3 separate regions of the Homo sapiens genome follow, and regions 1 and 2 are each linked to region 3. The links are contacts of gene promoters, found by promoter capture Hi-C in blood cells and fetal thymus (Javierre and others, 2016). All regions are on one chromosome and are shown on one strand. The core of a region is centred on a gene start or on the middle of the fragment in contact, and the rest is flanking DNA. Distances in the headings are between cores, read along the strand shown. Region 1 overlaps APOBEC2 (apolipoprotein B mRNA editing enzyme catalytic subunit 2). Region 2 overlaps NFYA (nuclear transcription factor Y subunit alpha). Region 3 holds the start of NCR2 (natural cytotoxicity triggering receptor 2).

Region 1 (3,084 bases), core at 290-2,789, 280 kb before region 3:
CCCAAGGGAACGACTAGGAACCAAACCTTCCCTGCCTTTCCTTTGCTCCTTGAAAGCACTTCTTTTCCTGAGGCATCTAGTCCAGAAGGCCCTGCTGAGGGACAGAGTAGATTCTAGGGCTGCTGGCCAGAGGGGTTGGAAACCCGTATTTATAGAGAGATGACCTTTCTTCCTCTCCCTTGGGTTTCAGGTTTCTTTGGGTCTTCTCCTCTTGCCTAGGGAAGAGGAGGAGGGGAAAATGTCAGAGCTTAAGAAGGGCAGAAAGAAACAGTCACCTCACAACCATCAAAGCCAATTTGCAATTGCATGCTGGGCCAAATTCACACTGGCCTAAATTCATACTTTCAGCTGAGCTATAGGGAGCTCCAGAAGGAAAAGAGGGACCACACAGCAGCTACTGTTTAAGCTTCCAAGCTATTTGAGTAGCCATGAATACTTGCCAGGGTTCCACCTGATAATCCATCATATAGGTGGCCCTGGATTAGACTTGGGGAGTGGGGCAAAAGGTCTTGAAGAGCAAGTTTGGGCAGGAACGGTAAGCTCTGAGCTTCTCAAAAGCAAAAAGCCACTCCAGGAAGTGAAGGGACCATTTGGCAACTGGTAAAGTTGAGGAGTGGTCTGGTGGGGTGAGTACCTTTGGGGAGCACTCACTATAAGTGAACGCCTGACAGGGATTGAGAAGAGGAGCAGGGAAACATCAGGCGATCCATTCTCCTAAAATGTTAAGTAAACAATAAACACCTCCAACTAGGGACACAGGGGCTTAGAGAGCTAAGTATAGTACCTGATGGAATCCTGGGGCTGGGTCCTCAAACACATCCATCTCCACAGTGGAAAATGAACCTGACAGCACGGGACATGGAAACTTGGGTGGATACATTTTGGTGATGGGTGGGGGTGAGGGAATCCTGCAGGGAAATAAGTCAAGTTTACTCATATCTTTGGCATCTGCTGCTCATCCCTAGGCAGCCAAGGCCCTGGGATACCAGGGATTCCCCTGCAGCCCAGGGAGTCTGTTGACTTCTTTGGGGAAAGAGAAGAGGTGGAGACAGGCAATAGTAGAATTAATGGTGCCATAGGTATCTCTTGGGGCAGGCAGAGAGATTACATTTTTAAAAAGGAAAACATTGAATCTTTCTAGCTGGTACTCATCTCCTCCTCTCTTGACATTTTTCATCTCTCCTATTAAAAATTCATTTTCTTTGGACTTCAAACTTGAACAAATCTTGCCTATTTTAGAAAAACACACACATACACATAAAAGTAAAAACAATCTTCAACTCTGATGTCTTCTCTGGCCCTTCTCTTTTTTCTTCTCCTTGTTATTACCAAAATTTTCAAAATTCCTGGACTTTTCCTGCTGTTTTCATTTCCTAACCATCCATCTCCTCCTCAAAGGCACCCACACAATTCATCACCAAGTTTAGTGTCCTAAGATACCTACTGGACTTGTTCAATTTGAGGCTTTTCCTCAGCTTCACACTATCTGCCTATTGCCAAGACTGTAATCTTGCATGGACATCATTTTTATTGTTTTCCTTCTCAAGAACCTGTAACAATTCTCTACTGCCTCCCGAATCAAGGCCAAACTTTCGAGAACCTTCATAATACTTCCTTTACTGTACCTATCCAATTTTAGCAGTCTTATAATGTTCTCAGCTGTTTTATTTACATCTTCTCTGTCCAGCTGCAATCTAGCTGCTAAATTATAAGCATCTGGAGGGCAGAGACCAAGTCCTTTAAGATTTGGAGGTGACTCAATACTAAATACAGGCTTAACTATCCCAAGATACCCTTGAGTAGTCTGTCCTCACAGATAAAAATTCTTGGACACTTAGCATGTGACAATCCCTTTACCTGAAAGTAAACAGACTTGAGAAGTAGTCACTTGAGAAGGAGAGCATGTTATTGCAAGTTTTAGGCCATTTCATGCCAAGATGCAATTTACATGAGTTACAAGGAAGAGAAAAAAGCATAAAATGCTCTGCAAAATCTTTGTTTTGCTCTGTCATGAGAAATTTTATATGCTTGCTACTTACCTGGCCACTTATTGGAATCATCCAGAGAGCTTTTTAAAAATACTGATGCTTGGACCACCTCTCCACATGTTCTGATTTAATTGGTTTGGCATGAGGCCCAGGCACTGACATTCTCAGTCTTCTAGGTGATTCTAAGGTATAGGCAGGTTAAAGATTCAGTGATTTAGAAATGTAGGGGTATGTTGTGCTGGAAGAGTGATGGTGGAGACAATGTCCTAGTAGGGTGACCAAAATGCACACCTCAGTCCAAATTCTCCTCTCCTTCAGATAAACCCTTCTGGATTTTTTAATGCTTTTTTTTTTTTTTTTTTTTTTGTCACTGATGTTACCACAGACAAGACCTATTTATAGTAAGAGTGAATGCATTTCTGAAGTACTGACCTGGAAGAGCTACCTACTCTAGGCTGGTTCTAGAAACAAGAACTTATCATTCTTTCCTGTCCTTTTGTCTCCTTGACCTACAGAGAACGGCTGCCTGCCAACTTCTTTAAATTCCAGTTCCGGAATGTGGAGTACAGTTCCGGGAGGAACAAGACCTTCCTCTGCTATGTGGTTGAAGCACAGGGCAAGGGGGGCCAAGTGCAGGCATCTCGGGGATACCTAGAGGATGAGCATGCGGCTGCCCATGCAGAGGAAGCTTTCTTCAACACCATCCTGCCAGCCTTCGACCCAGCCCTGCGGTACAATGTCACCTGGTATGTGTCCTCCAGCCCCTGTGCAGCGTGTGCTGACCGCATTATCAAAACCCTTAGCAAGACCAAGAACCTGCGTCTGCTCATTCTGGTGGGTCGACTCTTCATGTGGGAGGAGCCGGAGATCCAGGCTGCTCTGAAGAAGCTGAAGGAGGCTGGCTGTAAACTGCGCATCATGAAGCCCCAGGACTTCGAATATGTCTGGCAGAATTTTGTGGAGCAAGAAGAGGGTGAATCCAAGGCCTTTCAGCCCTGGGAGGACATTCAGGAGAACTTCCTATACTACGAGGAGAAGTTGGCAGACATCCTGAAGTAGGGCAACTGGGCTTTGCCTCACGTGAGTTTTCCTGGTG
Region 2 (2,880 bases), core at 211-2,710, 260 kb before region 3:
TAGCTAAATCTTTCTCACACTTAAGACCAGTTCATCCTGCAGGCCTCTGATAGCAAAGAAAAAAAAAGTTCAAGTAGTACCTTTTTTTTTTTAAGCCTTGTTGATTTATCCCCAGCTGGAACAAATCTCTGTCCTCCAAATTCCCATATCACTTTATCTCTTAGGATTCCAGTATAGGTTTTTAGTCCATTACTAAACTTAAAGACTCTTTGAAGTTTGAATCTTCGTCAGAGATTTCTTTTTATTTTTAAAACCTTCAGAACAGTGTCTGGCACATGGTACATAATTAGTGGAGAGAAGTGCATTAGAAAGCTCCAATCCAGAAATCTGTAGGATGATGGGGAAGCTGGACAGCCCTTTGTTGTAGTCTAGTCTTTCATCAAGCGTCTATCAGGACCCACTTGTTGAGTTGTGAAAGAAATTGAGTGAGCCAATGCTGGGAATTTTTAAATAATAGAATAGAAAATATCTGCCAGGCATGATGATGGCTCACGACTGTAATCCCAGCACTTTGGGAAGCCGAAGTGGGAGAATCCTTTGAGCTCAGGAGTTTGAGACCAGCCTGGGTAGCATAGGGAGACCCCCTCTCTTAAAAGAAAAAAAAGAATAGAAAATACCAAAGTGCATCTTGTGTTGTATAAAGGTAAATGCTGTTTCATGAAACTTTCATTTCAGTTACATGCTTTATACATGTGTGCACTGAGTTGTGATAATGAAATGTGTTTCTTACTAAGGGTTGTGGTCAAAAAAGTTAAAAAGCTACTGTTCTAGGCTTTGCCTGGTAGTGATTATCAACTGTGATAATCCTATGGCTTTTCATATGCTTACACTAGTTGAGTTTCTGAAGAGGTTTTAGCTTTGGAGTTTGTGTAGGTCCACATAGAATGGGTTCCTAGTAAGTGGTTGGCTAAGTCTCAGCTTTTGCACCTTGGAATAGTGGGGCAAAGAGAATTGCACTGAGAAGAGAATGCACTAGGAAGAGAATTTTCATGCTAGCCAGAATAAACACTTATTATTTGTTTCTCTCTCTTTGAGGAAAAACCATTCAAAACTTTGTGTTAAGAGCAAGAGCTAGACAGACTAAATCTGGCTTAGTTTGTCATAATCTTGGGCAAAGAGGCACTTTGGGAAAGACTATCGAATTGTATTGCAGTCTTGCTAACTGAAGCTCACAGTAGTAGGAACATATGACTTTACTGAAGCCAGTTGCTTATAGCATTAACCATTAACAGTATCAATATCATGATACAGGCTAAATCACTCTGTCATTAATGTGAGAGAGAATTGCTGCTAGATTTGAAGCTGCTCTTCAAATCTTGATACTCTTCAAAGTATAAATTTAAATATTGCTAAATTGGTTCATTTGTATTACCAGAATAAACTAGTTAAGAAGAAAATCTGTACGTTACATATATTAGTCATTATGTGCTTCAAGTTATATTTAGTCTTGTAAAGATGTAAACTTCTGGATATTAGTCAAGGAAAAAATCTCATATAAGAAGGAAATTTGGAGTTGGGGAGGCGTTGAAACCTAAAAGACATTCCTTTCATGATCCTTATTTTTTAAAATCAATTTATTGAGAGATACTTTAGAAACAAAGTATAATAATTTTAAATGTGTATTTTGATGAGTTTTGACAAATTTGTACACCTGTGCAACTGCTACCACAATGAAGATATAAAACATTTTCATCACCCTACAATGTTCCTAAGGCTCCATGCCAGTCAACCTCCCTCTTTCCTGTCTCCCTGTATTCTCCACTCCCAAGGAACCACTGATCCATTTTCTGTCTCTAGATTACTGATGTCTTTTGGAGATTTTATATAAATGGAATCATATATATTCGTTTACATCATAACCTTAATTTTATTAGTTTATAGCCATAAATGTATTGTGTATTAGAGACAAGATAGAATTTAGGGAAGCCTGTTAGTGCCCCTAACAGACTCACAGTCTGGCTGAAAACCTGATTTTCTATTCTATACCCAGAATCTCTGAGGAGCAGACTTAGTCAACCAATTCCAAAGAGACTGGTGTAAAAATCAGAAAACCGGTTTGTCATGTTGCTGATTATATTTGCTCCCTGTTGGCCAATCTATATGTAAATCCAAATTATAGCTAGAAATTTACCTAGCGAGCATTCCATTAGATCAAGGGCAGTGCTTTGGAGAACCATATGGCCACAAGTCCTCTTGCTGTGATGACATAGCCTGTTATTTATGGCTCATAGATTCTTATGTTGTATCCATTTTGGTTATGAGTAATGGGGTTGATTAATTTTTATTTTGATTAAATTTTGTTATATTTTTCCTAACATTCCAACATTCATTTGGGAAATAAGAATTTCTCAAAATTCTTATTCTAGAAATAAGAATTTTCAAGTGTGCAGTGAAATCAAAGGAATTTGAAAATAAACACCTGTATACCTGCCAGTTAGGGTCTATTAACATCTTACTATAATTGCCTTACCAGATATTTCTCCACCCATTCATCCATTTTTTGATGCATTTCAAAGTAAATTTTAGATATCAATACACTTCTTTCTAAGTACTTGGACATATAGTTGCACATATTTTGGTTTCTTCTTTCACACTGTATTGAGACACCTTGCAAATGATTAATTCCACCAGCATGTGTGGATTTATGGAGAGTGGTACTGTACTTTGCCACGATAATGAGCAGCTCAGTTAGGTCACGTCATTTTATTATTCAGATGTTGGAATTTATGAGGGCCTAGTGAAAAATCAGAGAGAAAGACCTATCTACATTTTTGTTTATATATCTGTCCTCCCTCCCATATTTCCAAGATGAATTGCCGATTGCTAACTTATATCATTTTAATTTTTTAATGAAGTCTTTATTAAAGGTTCTCAGATATC
Region 3 (2,985 bases), core at 282-2,781:
GTCAGCAGGGGTCAGAGAAGGGGAAAGTCAGCATGGGAACACAGTTGCTGACACACACACACACACACACACACACACACACACACACACGGTGACGTGCCTCGGTGCCATCTGAGGACAGGGCCGCCTTCCTCCCCCTCGGGAGGATGCCCCCACCCTGATTTGGTATGTAATTATGTTCAGGGAGAAGCTGGGCCCCACTGTCGGCGAGGAAACCCCCTAAAAGCTCACCTCCGCCTGTGTGTGCAATTCAGTGGGAGCCTCTTTCTCACCCCTGGTTTCCTGTCATGTCTGTGGGTCGCATTTCAACCAGACCAGCCGGAAGGCTCCAGACCGAAGTCAGGAGGCCTGTTCTGGTCCTGTGTGACTCTGAGCAGGTGGCTGACCATATCTGGGCCTCAGTTCTCACATCTGTGAAAAAGAGAAGTAATGTCTCCCTCGCGAACCTGCTGAGGGTCTTGAGAAAGTGTGCATGAGAATGCTTTGTAAATAATGCTTGTGTGAGTGAGTGGCGGGCATCGCTCCCTGAGCTGTCTTCTAGCTCTGGAGCTCCAGCCTGCTTTCCCACCTTGGGCCCTTGGGCGCCAACATCTGATAGCCCTACTGTGTCCTCCTTTTGCATACCCCTCTGCCTTTCCCATTCTCAGTCTCTGCATACTCCTACTGTAAGGAGAAGGGCAGTGTACTGAGATGGAGTGGAGAGCAGGAGTCCAGGGGCAGGCAAAGCAGTGGACTTGGAATCGAGTCCACTTGACAAGTTCCAATTCCCGTCTCAGTTATTACCTCTGTTCACAGAGCTCCCGGCAGCAGATCGCCAGTCCAGCAGAGCCCCCAGTGGTGCAACTGCAATTACACACAGTGTCTCTACCAGTCCTAAGATATATTAGCTCGTTCTCTTTGTAAATTGCATCGTATTTTAAAACTGAATCTTCAAAGTGCTGACATTAACTAAAGAAAAATATGCTAGAGTCTTTCATCTGTTTATGTTTTAATTAAACAATATTTCTCCAGGGTCCTTAAGTGGCAGAGGTCCAGGATGCAGAGATGAGGCCAGGTCCTGGTTCCTGGGCTCCCTCTACCCCACCCCACTGATGCATCCCATGCTCCGTGTGCTCTTCCCACCCTCCCCTCCCCGACCTTTGCCAGGGACCCTCCCTAGCCTCCCTTGCTGGTTTTGAATCTCCACCTCCTCTCCCCTCTCCTTTCCCGCACCCACGAAACTCCCAGAGTGGAAGCACATCACTGACCCACCATGGAGGCCTGGGCATGACGTCCCTGGCCATCCTGTGACCAGTGAGGCTTGGGGCTTGTGATCAGGGTTCCAAGTGCCCCTGAGTTTGTCATCCACCCTCAGCCTGCCTTTCCCTGGAAAGGGCGGCAAAGCTAGGGCCCTGCAAAGAAGAGAGGCAGCACACAGAGGGAGCAAGGGGGAAGCAGTCCATAACTCGCCCACAGTTTCCTCCTGGCCTTTTCAGCTCCTCCCTCAGGGGTAGGTCATGGTGGGGAGGGGCAGCTGGGCACAGGGGAGAGCAGGCATCTTCTACAGAGGCCTGGGAAGCTGTGTGCCAGACAGCGCCGAGCCCACCAGACCCAGACTCACCTACAGCTGGAGATCCCCACTTCCCTGTGCCCACAGAATCTGCCCTTTGCAGTCTCCCATCTCCCCAACCCAGGCCTCAGCCTGTCTCATTTTTCTATCAGACGTGCTGGAAGAGCAGCAGAATCAGGCCCAGCTCCCAATTCCCTCTCCCCAGTCTTCTCCAGGTGTCCCCTCCCATGAGCGCACAGGAAAAGGACCACATGGCCTGGCGAGCCCTACACCCACTGCTACTGCTGCTGCTGCTGTTCCCAGGTGAGGGGGAGGAGGAGCCCAGGGAGCAGAGGAGATGGGTGTGGTGGGGACTGTCAGGACAGCAGGGTCAGGGAGCAGGTGGCTCTGTGGCCAGAGGCCTGCTGTGAGGCAGGTTGTGCGCGTGGCCTTGACCTATGCGTTACTTCATCATTCTCCAGGCTCTCAGGCACAATCCAAGGCTCAGGTACTTCAAAGTGTGGCAGGGCAGACGCTAACCGTGAGATGCCAGTACCCGCCCACGGGCAGTCTCTACGAGAAGAAAGGCTGGTGTAAGGAGGCTTCAGCACTTGTGTGCATCAGGTTAGTCACCAGCTCCAAGCCCAGGACGATGGCTTGGACCTCTCGATTCACAATCTGGGACGACCCTGATGCTGGCTTCTTCACTGTCACCATGACTGATCTGAGAGAGGAAGACTCAGGACATTACTGGTGTAGAATCTACCGCCCTTCTGACAACTCTGTCTCTAAGTCCGTCAGATTCTATCTGGTGGTATCTCCAGGTGAGCTCTTTCCCTAGGGTCCTCAGAGGGGTGCCCCTCACCCCCTTTTGGTGCCTCCATCACCCCTGGTTTCCCAATCGTGGAAGCCACCCATGCCCACGCCCCAGTCTCCTGGGAAGGCTGTTGGGAACAGGTGCAGGGGGAACTCATATGTGCACAAGAGCAGCCATCTCACAGTCTGCATGACTCCCAAGCCTGCAGCCTGGGCCTCCTGAGAGATGCTGAAACAGACCCGGTGAGCATGCTGACCAGTCAGCCTATATGACCCTGCTACAGGAGGGCAGGACCACCCGGCATCTTTGGTACATAGTAGGTGCCCAGGAAAGGTGCATCCACTGGCTGCCCCCACCATGTAGAGCCAGTGGTATCTGGGTAGTCTAGATACCAAGATACTATGGGTATCCCTCATAGTCCAGATCGGGGACTAAGAATGAGTGAAAAAAACTAAGAATGAGTGAAAAAAAATCAAAAGAAAAACAATATTTTGTGACATACAGGAAATTCAAATTTCAGTGCCTATAAGTGGAGTTATTTTTTGGAACACAGCCATGCCCACTCAATTACCTATTGTCTGTGGCCCTTTTCATGCTGTGACAGCAAAATTGAGCAGCTGTGACAGAGACCACATGGCTC

Evidence for each region. Contacts are between HindIII fragments. The CHiCAGO score rates a contact against its expected background, and 5 or more counts as called.
Region 1: a fragment that was not itself captured here is called in contact with the fragment with the promoter of NCR2 in region 3 in 1 of 17 cell types (neutrophils); the score reaches 9.1 in neutrophils.
Region 2: a fragment that was not itself captured here is called in contact with the fragment with the promoter of NCR2 in region 3 in 4 of 17 cell types (monocytes, naive CD4 T cells, megakaryocytes and 1 more); the score reaches 6.1 in monocytes.

Annotation. Positions count from the first base shown.
Region 1 is chr6:41,058,825-41,061,908 of GRCh38, forward strand. APOBEC2 (apolipoprotein B mRNA editing enzyme catalytic subunit 2) reads left to right here. Exons shown (of 3, transcript NM_006789.4): 2 at 2,504-3,068. The coding sequence ends at 3,047. Among named protein-coding and RNA genes, the nearest start is that of APOBEC2, 7.2 kb to the left of the region's middle. The HindIII fragment of the contact is 2,270 bases long and covers 405-2,674 here.
Region 2 is chr6:41,075,653-41,078,532 of GRCh38, forward strand. The region is part of intron 1 of NFYA (nuclear transcription factor Y subunit alpha); the gene reads left to right. It also overlaps a transcript of OARD1 not described here. Among named protein-coding and RNA genes, the nearest start is that of NFYA, 4.1 kb to the left of the region's middle. The HindIII fragment of the contact is 3,130 bases long and covers 1-2,880 here.
Region 3 is chr6:41,334,077-41,337,061 of GRCh38, forward strand. NCR2 (natural cytotoxicity triggering receptor 2) reads left to right here and starts at 1,532. Exons shown (of 5, transcript NM_004828.4): 1 at 1,532-1,852; 2 at 2,011-2,352. The coding sequence starts at 1,801. RefSeq lists an enhancer at 150-279. The HindIII fragment of the contact is 13,900 bases long and covers 1-2,985 here.